Regions from separate parts of the Homo sapiens genome. Here regions 2 and 3 are each linked to region 1. The links are contacts of gene promoters, found by promoter capture Hi-C in blood cells and fetal thymus (Javierre and others, 2016). All regions are on one chromosome and are shown on one strand. Each heading gives the region's core, a stretch centred on a gene start or on the middle of the fragment in contact. The rest is flanking DNA. Distances are from core to core; before and after follow the strand shown. Region 1 holds the start of SENP1 (SUMO specific peptidase 1). Region 2 overlaps ENDOU (endonuclease, poly(U) specific). Region 3 has its middle 16 kb from the start of ANP32D.

The links. The method cuts DNA at HindIII sites, captures the fragments that hold promoters and counts their contacts. A CHiCAGO score of 5 or more calls a contact.
Region 2: a contact is called between a fragment that was not itself captured here and the fragment with the promoter of SENP1 in region 1, in 1 of 17 cell types (fetal thymus). The highest score is 5.0, in fetal thymus.
Region 3: a fragment that was not itself captured here is called in contact with the fragment with the promoter of SENP1 in region 1 in 4 of 17 cell types (M2 macrophages, M1 macrophages, naive CD4 T cells and 1 more); the score reaches 5.7 in M2 macrophages.

What each region holds. Positions count from the first base shown.
Region 1 is chr12:48,104,368-48,108,036 of GRCh38, reverse strand. SENP1 (SUMO specific peptidase 1) reads left to right here and starts at 1,958. Exons shown (of 18, transcript NM_001267594.2): 1 at 1,958-2,009. It also overlaps a transcript of PFKM not described here. RefSeq lists enhancers at 1,212-2,085, 2,371-2,580, 2,086-2,961 and a silencer at 2,091-2,230. The HindIII fragment of the contact is 3,654 bases long and covers 1,221-3,669 here.
Region 2 is chr12:47,718,783-47,722,451 of GRCh38, reverse strand. ENDOU (endonuclease, poly(U) specific) reads left to right here. Exons shown (of 10, transcript NM_001172439.2): 2 at 1,577-1,699. RPAP3-DT (RPAP3 divergent transcript) reads right to left here. Exons shown (of 4, transcript NR_183480.1): 2 at 3,180-3,305; 3 at 2,753-2,852. Among named protein-coding and RNA genes, the nearest start is that of ENDOU, 4.9 kb to the left of the region's middle. The HindIII fragment of the contact is 1,899 bases long and covers 743-2,641 here.
Region 3 is chr12:48,454,745-48,458,413 of GRCh38, reverse strand. It overlaps a transcript of C12orf54 not described here. Among named protein-coding and RNA genes, the nearest start is that of ANP32D, 16 kb to the left of the region's middle. The HindIII fragment of the contact is 1,129 bases long and covers 1,177-2,305 here.

The DNA of each region.
Region 1 (3,669 bases), core at 709-3,208:
GGATTCTGGGAAGGGAGTGTTCCTTACTCCCTTTCATTTTCCCTATGACTCTGAGCTGTCCAGGGCTTTCTTTCCAAAAATCCAGTGAAAAATTAGAGACGCGATGTACCTCAAAAAGATTCTATTCCCTTGACATACATGGGGGAAAGCAGAACATATAACTAGATACTTTGAGGTGGGGTGGATGAGAAGGCCATTTTTCCTTAGGGCTTGATTTATCTGATAGTTTTGGAGTGTCAGTTATAATGACAATAAAGATTCCCACAGATGAGCCCAGACTGGTCGAAGTAATTCACATAACAACACAATAATGACAAGCTCATGGGATAAATTTTGTTCCCCCCTCAACTCTCAAGTCCTCCTTATCTGCCTGGCATCTATCACAACAAACCAGGTCAAAATCTTACCTGGAAAATACACGACTCAGTGATCAATATTTTATCAAAGTGAGAATGTGATAAACAAGGTCAGTTGACCCCTAAAATCCGTATTTACACTAGAAAGCCTCACATCCTGTATTTAGACTTCTTGTGAGAGAACCCATTCTCTGTCACTGGAGTATGATCAGGAGACAAGGGTACCTGTTCTCTGAGGAGTCCTGACTAACTGGCGAGACTGAATCACACACATGAAAAATTTCAGATGAAACTCGTCTTTATGCATGGCTGCCTCCTAGAAATAGAGACAGAGTTTAATCCAAACGAACAGAGCTGTGAAATAAGATGTCAGTGACTGACATGGACCAGCTACACTCATGACTACTTGGCCTTAGGACTTGACAATATAATATAAAAGTATCAGCACATGAGGCAATACAAATAATCTACTTTGATGTATTTGACAGGGGAGGAAACCCTGAACTCAGCAAGCTGCTGAGAGTATCAGAAAGGCTGGGGGCCTCCAGAAACTGCCCTTCTTTAAGTCTGAGCTCAGACTGTGCCTGTGGCTGTGATCTGGGTGTAAAGGACCTATTAAGGGGGCATTTCTCTAAGACTTCTACAGGGCCTGGGTCCAGAGGCCTGCCAAGCTGAGGTGCTTGACAAAAAGCCTGAATGAACAAACATATTTCTTCCCATTATGTTCTCTTAGAAAGTATGGCAGATTCCAGGTTAATCAATGTGTCCCAGGAACAACAAAGCCCTTCAAAGGTCACAGGTGATTCCTGGGTCCTTCTCTATCTCTACCCAGAAAAGCAGATCTCTAGTGGGCTCCCAAAAGCTTTCCTCACAGCTCTGCCTGTTTCAAATTCCTCCAGAGTTCTGGAAGGTTCTACATCTTGCCAGAGTCTAGCCTAATCCGTCCTCAAGTTGCTTGTTTGTTTGTTTGTTTGCTTGCTGAATGGTCAATCAAGTATGAGGTGGTGCAGAGTACAGGATTGCAAGTTAAGAAACTTGTTTCCTAGTCCTAGATGGGCCGTGCACTTAAAACCTTTGGGAAATCACTTCACTTCTCTGAACCTGGTAAGACTAAAGTATCTCCAATAACCTCTACAAGCACTAACGTTCTGTGATTCTCAATAAAACACGAGATAGCCTGAGATCGATTTAGATCTCAGGTCCCTATCTGTCGGGGGAAGCCACAGGTTTCCGCAGATTTAGGGCCACCGCGAAAAGCTGCCATGGAAACTGGAACGCAAGCAAGCAAAACTCGCCGGGCGGAACCAGAAGGCGGCGGGTAAGGGAGCAGAGGGAACAGAGAAAAGCATAGGACGAAGGGCTCACTAACAGTATTCCGAGTACGAGAAAGCGAAAAAGCCCAGACTGAAAAGGGTACTGAGAAATTACGACTAGTCTTAAATGCTCCCTTCGCTTCTCGGGCCTCGCCACACCGCGCAGGCGCCCCACTGGTCCTTAACTCTGTTCTTTGACCTCCTGCCCCAGCCCCCTCCTCTTCAGCCACCTAGCGACTCTTCCGGTGCTGTGAAGGCGGTTCCGGTTCGCGGCGGTTCCCGGGTTTTGCGTTCCGCGCCCGGCCGGAAACCCCTTCGCATGGCAGCCGGTTCCGGTTCGGTGAGTGGCGGCGGGAAGCTGGGGGAGGGGTGAGGATGGAGGGAGCCTGGTCCAGGAGACTGTGTCGGACCCGGTCAGCCGGCCCGGGCTGGACTGGGCGGAAGCGGGGAGCACTGTGGGGCCGGCGCCTTTTCCTCTGCCCCGCCCCCTGGGACCACCTCCCCTCCCCCCTGCTGTCCGGTGGCCGCGCTGTGGCCGCCGGTGGCCGTTAGGCTACCTGAGGCCGTTCCTTCTGGTCTCTCTCTCCTGGGCCGCGGAGAGACCGTCTCCCTGCCGTTACAGCAGGCCCCATCCCAGCGCCCAGCCGTACTTGGGGAAAGGCCGGTTGCGATTCCGGGGCTTTCCCGCCAGAGCTGGGTCTTCTCTGGGGAGAGCTGTTTTCACCGGGAAGCTCGGCTTTCTGTGGTACCGGCTTCATCTCCCGCCTTCCTTGAGACCCGAGTGATATTTCTTGACTACTTCTGCGTCTCACGTAAACATTTCTCCAACTCTCCTACTCTGTGGTATCTCCCTGAGATGTGATATCGCTAGTGCCACCATCAGAAAGAAACGTCTGGACCCTCCTGCTCAGGTTATGAAAATCCCCTTAACTGCCACAATTTGCTTACCTGGCTCATCGCCTCCTGGTAATTCCCTTGAACCGTCTCTTTCTTGGTGTACCCTAACGTGATCTCTGGATCTATGCCTCGTTTCTCTTTCCTTGAGCTTGGTGATTTCTGTTTATCGGTGCCTGTGCAGTATTTCCACTATCTTGTTAGCAGTAACTTGCTTCTTTATCACTTTCAAGTCAGCCTTGTTAAAGTCATTTTACTTCATATTTGGTACACTTATTATATTTGGAGTGGTGGTGATTCTTGTAATATTCATATAAAGCCTTTTATCTACTACCAACTATTTGACTGAGGGTCTTTGTTATAATTGGTTATTCTGGATGTATTAGATCTCATCATCTCCTAAATCTTTATTCTTCATAAAAATAATTTGTGTTAAGGACTCATGTTGAAATACAGATTACCCTGACTTTGAAATTACAGTTAAAGCGCAACTTTAAGCATCTCTATAAGCATGATCCCTTAACCTACTTCCAGTTTACACTCTACCACCCTTTATTTTTCCTCTCTAGTCCCTTTTAGGAAGGCTTATTCATTTTTAACTGACTTCAATTAATTATCCCAACTGCAAAGATGGTCTTCATGTCACTCATCTAATGAGTTGTCTAGAGGGAGTGGATGGGTACAAAAACAGGTTCTGCTACTTCTGGCTAAGGGAATGCAGTTGTTGACTTGCATTGCGGCTTTGGAACTCTTGTCCTTTTCTTCCCAACTTCTACATCTTCTATCAGTTGTACCAGCTCTACTGTCTTGCGGTACCTGTTTATGGATCTGGCTTTCCCTACTGGACAGTGAGCTGCTCAGTGGCAGGGACCCTTTCTTAATGCACGTAGTCGGTGCACAGTAAATGAATGTGTATGAAAGAATTTGAACACTTAGGGTTTACGGCGTTAGAGTGTTAAGGTATTTAAGGTGTTAGAGTGATTGGGAGAGATTACATGTAAAAATAGAAGGAAAGAACCTCAAACACATGACGATATAGTACAAACTATTGTACACATAATTGTTTTTCAGAACTTGGAAAAGGGTGATTTCACATGGTTGCTTTC
Region 2 (3,669 bases), core at 443-2,942, 390 kb after region 1:
ATGAGATAGGCTCCATTATCATCCCACTTTTACAGATACGAAAACCAACGCACAGAAGTTCAAATAACTTGCCCAAGATCACATAGCTAGAAAGCAGTAGAACCAGAATTCCAGCCTCAAGCAGTTTGGCGCCAGAGTCTAGGTTCTTGACCTCTCTGCTATGCTGTCCCTCATTAGACAAAGTATCAACCTTAATCCCAGAATCCAATACTAGGGACTGGTAACCAAACCCAACCTCTAATATTTAAGCTCTAACCCACTCCAGGCTTAAATTAAGATACTACACCTGTATTGAATCATAACCAGAACCAAGCCCCCAAACAAAACAGGGATTATTCATCTTTTTCTCATCCTGACACATTCCTCAACCCCGAATGTCATCTTAAGTCTATTCCTATTCCTTACCCAAATATCAATACAAAATTGTTAATTTATCAACTAATTTAACTCAAGCCCAAATCCTAACTGTAGTTCTTAACCTAACTAACCCCAACCCTGGTCCAAATTAGGTTTCAGTTTCCTCACTGATACAAATTCTGATGCTGATGGTAACTCTGACTCTGATCTTGACATTCTCTGTAACCCACAGTATGACCTCTGAACCCAGCGTTCGTGAAATCCAAACCTCAGGAACCTCAAATCGAACAAAGACTCTGTTATCACCCTTAAAGCCCAGAGTGGATAGTGGGTTTCCACTGTTCCTTCAAAATGTCTTGTCTTATGTCCCTTGCGACCAAAAGCTTGCTTCTGCAAACCATTTGGCTGCAGTGGGGGATGTGGTCTGTGGTTACATAATAGAATGCTATGCCAGAGCCCAATTCTCACCCGCACCCGCCTCATTCCCCACCCTGAGCATAAATTCATCTGAATGTACTCCAAAGACGGGAAAGAACAGAAAGATGTGACACAGGGGGAAAGAGCGTGCAGAGAAGACCAGAAGGGGAGACAAGAGCAAAGAAGCAAATAACATAACAGGGATGGAATAAGAGCCAGCGGAGGGTCAGGGGCAGGGGACATCCCTGGGGCAGCATGACATGACAGGTGAAGGGGGCCTGTGGGCTACACCCAGTTCACAGACCTCTTTCTTTGGTGTGCTTAAAGTGTTACAAGGTTGGAAAATTTCACATAAAAATGAAGATTTATCTTGAAAAAAAAAGGGAAGGCTCTGGCAACACTGAGCACACATCCCAACATGGCCACAATCGGCTAGAGCTGAGCATCAGCTGCAAATTTCAGATGGAGCATTGCTCTCAAGTTTGTCACGGTCTCCATTTCTTCCTACTGCCTCATACCCTGCTTCTTTACTTGCTTATGTTATGGGCCTAACCCAAATAGGGATTTGGGTTTGTGATCCTGGTCTCTTTGATGAGCCTTGAAATATTTGGTGGGTGTTGGGTGGTGGGGAGGAGGCTTATGTTGTGCATGGGAGGCTGTGGATGTACTTCTCCTTTGCAGAGAGTAATGCCCTTCCCTGCCAGGTACACTCCTGCCCTGGTCTGTGAACCCTCCTGCAGGAGGCACCCTGGGGAGAACAGGGTCTCCATAGAGCTGAGTTGGTGACCTTTACTGCCCATAGGAAAAATAGAATCCTGTGCATCTCGATGTAATGAGAAATTTAACCGGGACGCTGCCTGCCAGTGTGACCGCCGGTGTCTCTGGCATGGGAACTGCTGTGAAGACTATGAACATCTGTGTACTGGTGAGCCTCCTTGTGAGACGAAGGCATGTCCAGCCTGTCTAAGGGGCCACTGGCCTGGGTGTCCAGCAGGCCAGAGCAGCGTTCAGGACTCACAGGGGCTCTAAGGGTCTGGACAGAAAGCACTGAGGGACAGAGGCAGGGTCAGGAATTTGGCCACCACTTTTCTCAGGTTTTCTAGGATGCCCCCAACTTAAAATACAGTAGATGTCATTTACCTAGAATTTCTGTCTGAAATATCAGTTTTAACAATATCTTGAAAGTTTAAGTACTAAATTCTAAAAAAGGGTAAAATGATAAAAATAATATTTTAGTATGTATGACATTATTAATTGTTATTCAACACTTTAAATCACAAAAATGTAAAAATGGTAGCAAACTCTCACAACTTGTGTACTGCCAGGAAGACTGCATGGTGTCACAGTGACGGACACGATTCATACCACTCTTCCTCTAGTGAAGGGACCACGTGGTGCAACATCTCCATACCATCATTTCCAGCCTACCAATTAGAACAGGACATGCACCACCTTTAACTGCATAGTTTTAAATGAATACTTGAAAAAAATCTTGTATGAATAATCAACTTGTTTAGGTGCTTCCAATGTTGTCAACTCCCAGATTAATGATCTTCTGCTTTGTGACACAAAGCCTTGATGTCAAGCCATGCACTCTGACTCCCAGTTTTGAAAACATGGTCACTGAAGCCACGTTAGGTAATGGCCATCAATTTCACTGCATAATCATTGCACAGGTTGTGCGTTGTGCAAGGGAACCTAGTTAAGCAGCAAGCTGGACCAAAATCCAGTCTGTATCCTTCTCATCAGGTTTTGTGCACTGGTGAAGAGTTGTGTCTGCTGAGAGAAACAAGTGTGTTTTCTGAATTTGCCCAAAGGTGGTAGCCAGTCAAGCACCCACAGAGCTGCTTCCACTCGTATGGAAGCTTTTTTTCAATTTATACAAAAACACCATATGTATTAGTCCATTTTCATACTGCTATGAAGAAATACCCGAGACTGGGTAATTTGTAAAGAAAAAGAGGTTTAATAGACTCACCGTTCCACATGGCTGGGGAGGCCGCACAATCATGGTGGAAGGCAAAGGAGGCGCAAAGACACATCTTACATGGTGGCAGGCAAAGTGCGGGGGAACTGCACTTTATAAAACCATAAGATATCGTGAGACTTATTCACTATCACGAGAACCAGCACAGGAAAAACCCGTCCCCATGATTCAGTTACCTCTCACCAGGTCCCTCCCGTGACACATGGGAATTATGTGAGCTACCATTCAAGATGAGATTTGAGGGGGGACACAGCCAAACCATATCACCATATAAGCATATGTATTATACATTAGCACCACATATATATTAGCACACACACATACACCTCCTTCCCCAGGCAGGGAGACCCAGGCCGAGATCAGCCGGAATCAGAGCCTATGCCTTTTCTGCTGTCCTTGTGTCCCCACTTTTTCTTACCATTCAGAAAACACAGGAAGGCTTGTTCACCTTGGACCATCAGGCTGGCATTCAAGATAAAGGCAATACCCAGCGTAGTAGCCATTTCATCTTCAAGTTTCTGATTTGCAACTCAGAACCCCTTTCCTATAGAAAAACATATTGGAAATGATGGTTAGGATTCCAGCTCAGCACACAAAATTCTGTTTAGCATAAAATGTGGCTGAATTCAGAACTCCATGGATTGCCAGCACTTAGAACACAACCTGACACATAGTAAGTGATCAGAAGATGTTTGTTGACTGAAGAATAACCTAACTGGTAGTTCTGATGGTAATAACTTTCCAGCAAACTCACTAGTAGATTCTGAATCACTTTGTAACAGTACTGTTTGTTGGGTGTGTGGAGGGGGTGCTGGTGGGGGGATTATTCCACTGTGTGATGAGAGAGGAACTCAGAGTCCCCAGGAACATTTCTCCCCCCTGCATCACCCCCAACCTCAAATCCACCC
Region 3 (3,669 bases), core at 492-2,991, 350 kb before region 1:
CTATTCTGTCCAAACACCCCGATAATAAAATTCCATGTATGTTTAACTCAAATACTGAGTTATGTGTTTTCAATGCATATAGCTCAGAGTTTTGACTGTTTAGATCCCTCTCCTGTACCAATCAACAAATATTCTCTAAATCCAGAATATTCTCCTCACTAGCTGCTGAGCAGTTGCAGTGAATGAGGCCAAGGGCAGTTTGTGCATTTAATTGACTCCAGCAGGTCAGGCTGGAGTTCACTAGGAAAGCCTCAAGGGTGTCTGCCTCCTTTTCTGCATTTCTGATATTTCTGCTGAGAGGAAGCCGAAAACAAGGTGGGCCTCTGGCCAGTTTCTTCAAAAGTCTGTAGGTGAGGGAAGTAAAGCACAGGCCACCCTTGCCTTCAGCAATTGTTCCTGGGCTCAGACACTGGGGAGCTGCTTCCTCAAACTCCTGTCAACTAAGCTTTCTGTGATCTGTCAGAGGAGGGAGAAGCTGCTGGGGCCTGAAGGGACAAGTGCCAACTTGCAATAAGGAGACCCTGGAACGCCAGGCAGAACATCACTCCCCAGTCATCCCGTCCTCTGGGTAATGATGCTCAATGGCCTCATAGCTGCTTCTCCCGCAGGACACAATTTCAGTGTCATTGTGGAGGTAGAGAATGCCACACAGAAAGAGGACCCAAAGCCAAGGAGGCAGCAGACTGGAGAGGCTCACAGCTTCTGGGCACCGAAGCCGAAGCTGACTTCCCCATCCCATTAGAGACAGGCTTGGAGGGGCCAAACACCATCAGAACAATTTTCCCTGGCAGAGAAGCCCGGGACTAGAGCAAATCCAACTTTGGGAGGCCGAGGCAGGCAGATCACAAGGTCAGGAGTTCGAGACCAGCCTGACCAACATGGTGAAAACCCGTCTCTACTAAAAATACAAAAATTAGCCGGGTGTGGTGGCAGACACCTGTAATCCCAGCTACTCAGGAGGTTGAGGCAGGAGCATCACTTGAACCCATAAGGCAGAGGTTGCAGTGAGCTGAGATCAAGACATCACACTCCAGCCTGGGCCACAGAGTGAAACTCCATCTCAAAAAACAAACAAACAAAAAAACTAAACAAAAATAAAAAACCACCACCACCACCACCACCACCACCAACAACAACAACAAAAAACTGCTTGTTGCATTCATTTGGCACCAAGCTTACGGCCCATTCTTCTGAGTTCGGGCCTGGGGCCCTACGGTCACCTCTCACTCTATACCACCCCCAGCTTGGTCTGATTCCATTTAATTTCATAGTCTATGGATTACCCACGATGTGCTGGGGACATATTACACAGAGACCACATATTAATAGGGGAGACAGACACAAGTAACTACACACTAAACTTAATGCATGATTTAGGAGCTACAAAGTATCTAGAAACCACCAAGAAAGGAAAGATTTTAACAGTAGGATCACATCTAAATATTCAGCATCCTATGAAAGATTCTTGGCAGACTGGTCCTCATAATGGTGATAATATGCTTTCCTTGATTTGAAGATGCACACTTTTCGTACTTTGGTGTTTCTGAGATTCAGCTGCTTCTTACAATTGATGTGTGCATTTAATGTGGTTTATTCTGCTTGCCAAAGAAGAAAAAAGCTGATAATTAACAGATAGTTCAGTTTTTTCAACTGATGAGAACCTAGACAGAGGGAAATATATTAATAATAACACAGCACTAATGGGCTAGACAATATGCTAAATGTTATGTGAACATCTCATTTCATCCTCACAACCAACCTAACATGGAGAACAATTGTCAAAGCCATTTTCCAGGCAAAGAAACAAAGAGAAATAGCTTTCCCAAGGTCACGGCAGGCGAGGAGCAGAGTTGGGATTCAAATTTAACCCTCTTTGGCTCCAGAGTCCATGATCTTAATCTCAAATGCTACCTGTTCACATCTCTCTTCCTTTACTAAACTGGTTCCTCTGCCGGGAAGACTTCTGCCACTCCTCGTTCTAAGACTTGCTTCTCTAGATAAGGCAGGGTCAAATGGTATCTTTCCTGTAACTATTTCCCTGACCACTTGATACAGCTTGAATTTTTCCTCCTCTGAACTCCCATAGCAATCTTGTCACACTGGTAGAGTATAACTTACTATACTGCATTACAGCTGTCAGTATAACTTTATTCCTCATTACAGTGTGAGTGTCTTAAAGGCAGAGACTCTCTCCTACTCGTCTTTATATACCCAGGGCCCAATACAGTGCCTGGAAAACAATTGTTGTTGGCTGAGCTGCTTAAAAAATGTGTTTTCCCTACTTCGTTGAGATATAGAGAAAGCTTTACAGACTTTTAAATGATAATTTATTGAGTACAAACTACTGACATAATATTAGCTAAGAGCTTTATATGCTCTTATACTTTTTGTGAGAAGAAATGAGATAATCAGTGTAAAACACTTAAAATAGCGTATGGCACATGGTAAGGATTCAATCACGTTATTTTTTAATTATTATCACTATTTAACCATTGTGAAAATTCACTGAGTAGTTACTATGATTGTTAGTGTTCTATAAATAAGGCAACTGAGTAATAGAAGGCGAAGAAACTTATTCACTGTCAAACAGACAATGAAGGACAGATTTTGATCATTTATGTGTATGTATCAAATCTTACCTCATGGATACATTTTTCATAATTTTACACAGTGCAGGGGGTATCTCTGCCTGTTCTCTAGACTTCCAGTGCCTGTTAGCTCTTCTGTACAATCATGTTGGAGCTGCTCACTGATCTTTAGGTGCTGCTCAACTCCAGGTTTTCTTGTTATTTAAATCTTTTCTTCAGCCTCTCTGCTCCAAAACCTGGAAGATCTGAAAGAAAAACTTGGCTGAATATGGTTGTGTCTCTGACAAAGACTGCTGTTCTGCTGACGTTTCTCTGAGATCTGTAACAACTCTGTCTGCATCCCAAGCCATGGGTTTGGTGAGCTGCTTAAAATTGGCAGTCAAAACTCTGATTTGACCATAAAGACATATGTATGCATATGTTCATCACAGCGCTTTTCACAATAGCAAAGACATGGAATCAACCTAGATGCCCATTAACAGTGGACTGGAAAAAGAAAATGTGGTATATATACACCATAGAATACTATGCTGCCATCAAAAAGAATAAAATCATGGCTTTTGGAGCAACATGGATGCAGCTGGTGGCCATTATCCTAAATGAACTAATACAGGAACAGAAAACCAAATCGTGCATGTTCTTATTTATAAGTGGGAGGTAAACATTGAGTACACAGGGACACAAAGAGGAGAACAATAGACACTGGGGCCTACTTGAGGTTGGAGGATGGGATTGAAAAACTGCCTGTCTGGTACTATGCTCACTACCTGGATGATGAAATCATTTGTACACCAAACTCCAGTGACACGCAATTTACCCACATAACAAACCTGCACAGGTACCCTCTGAACCTAAAAGTTGGAAGGAAAAACAAACCCAAAAGGAAGCCCCTATGATTTGAAGAAACTTGCAGTAGTCAAAACTTGTCATTCTAAAGTTGAGCCACAAGGAAGCAGTAGTGTCCTAGCTGTAAGGTCTGAAGATGCTGGCATATTTATTCTAATGCCTTCCCTAGACTTACAACCTTAAGCTTTGCATATTTCATTTACTAAGTTACTATAGTTACCCAACAGTATTTGTA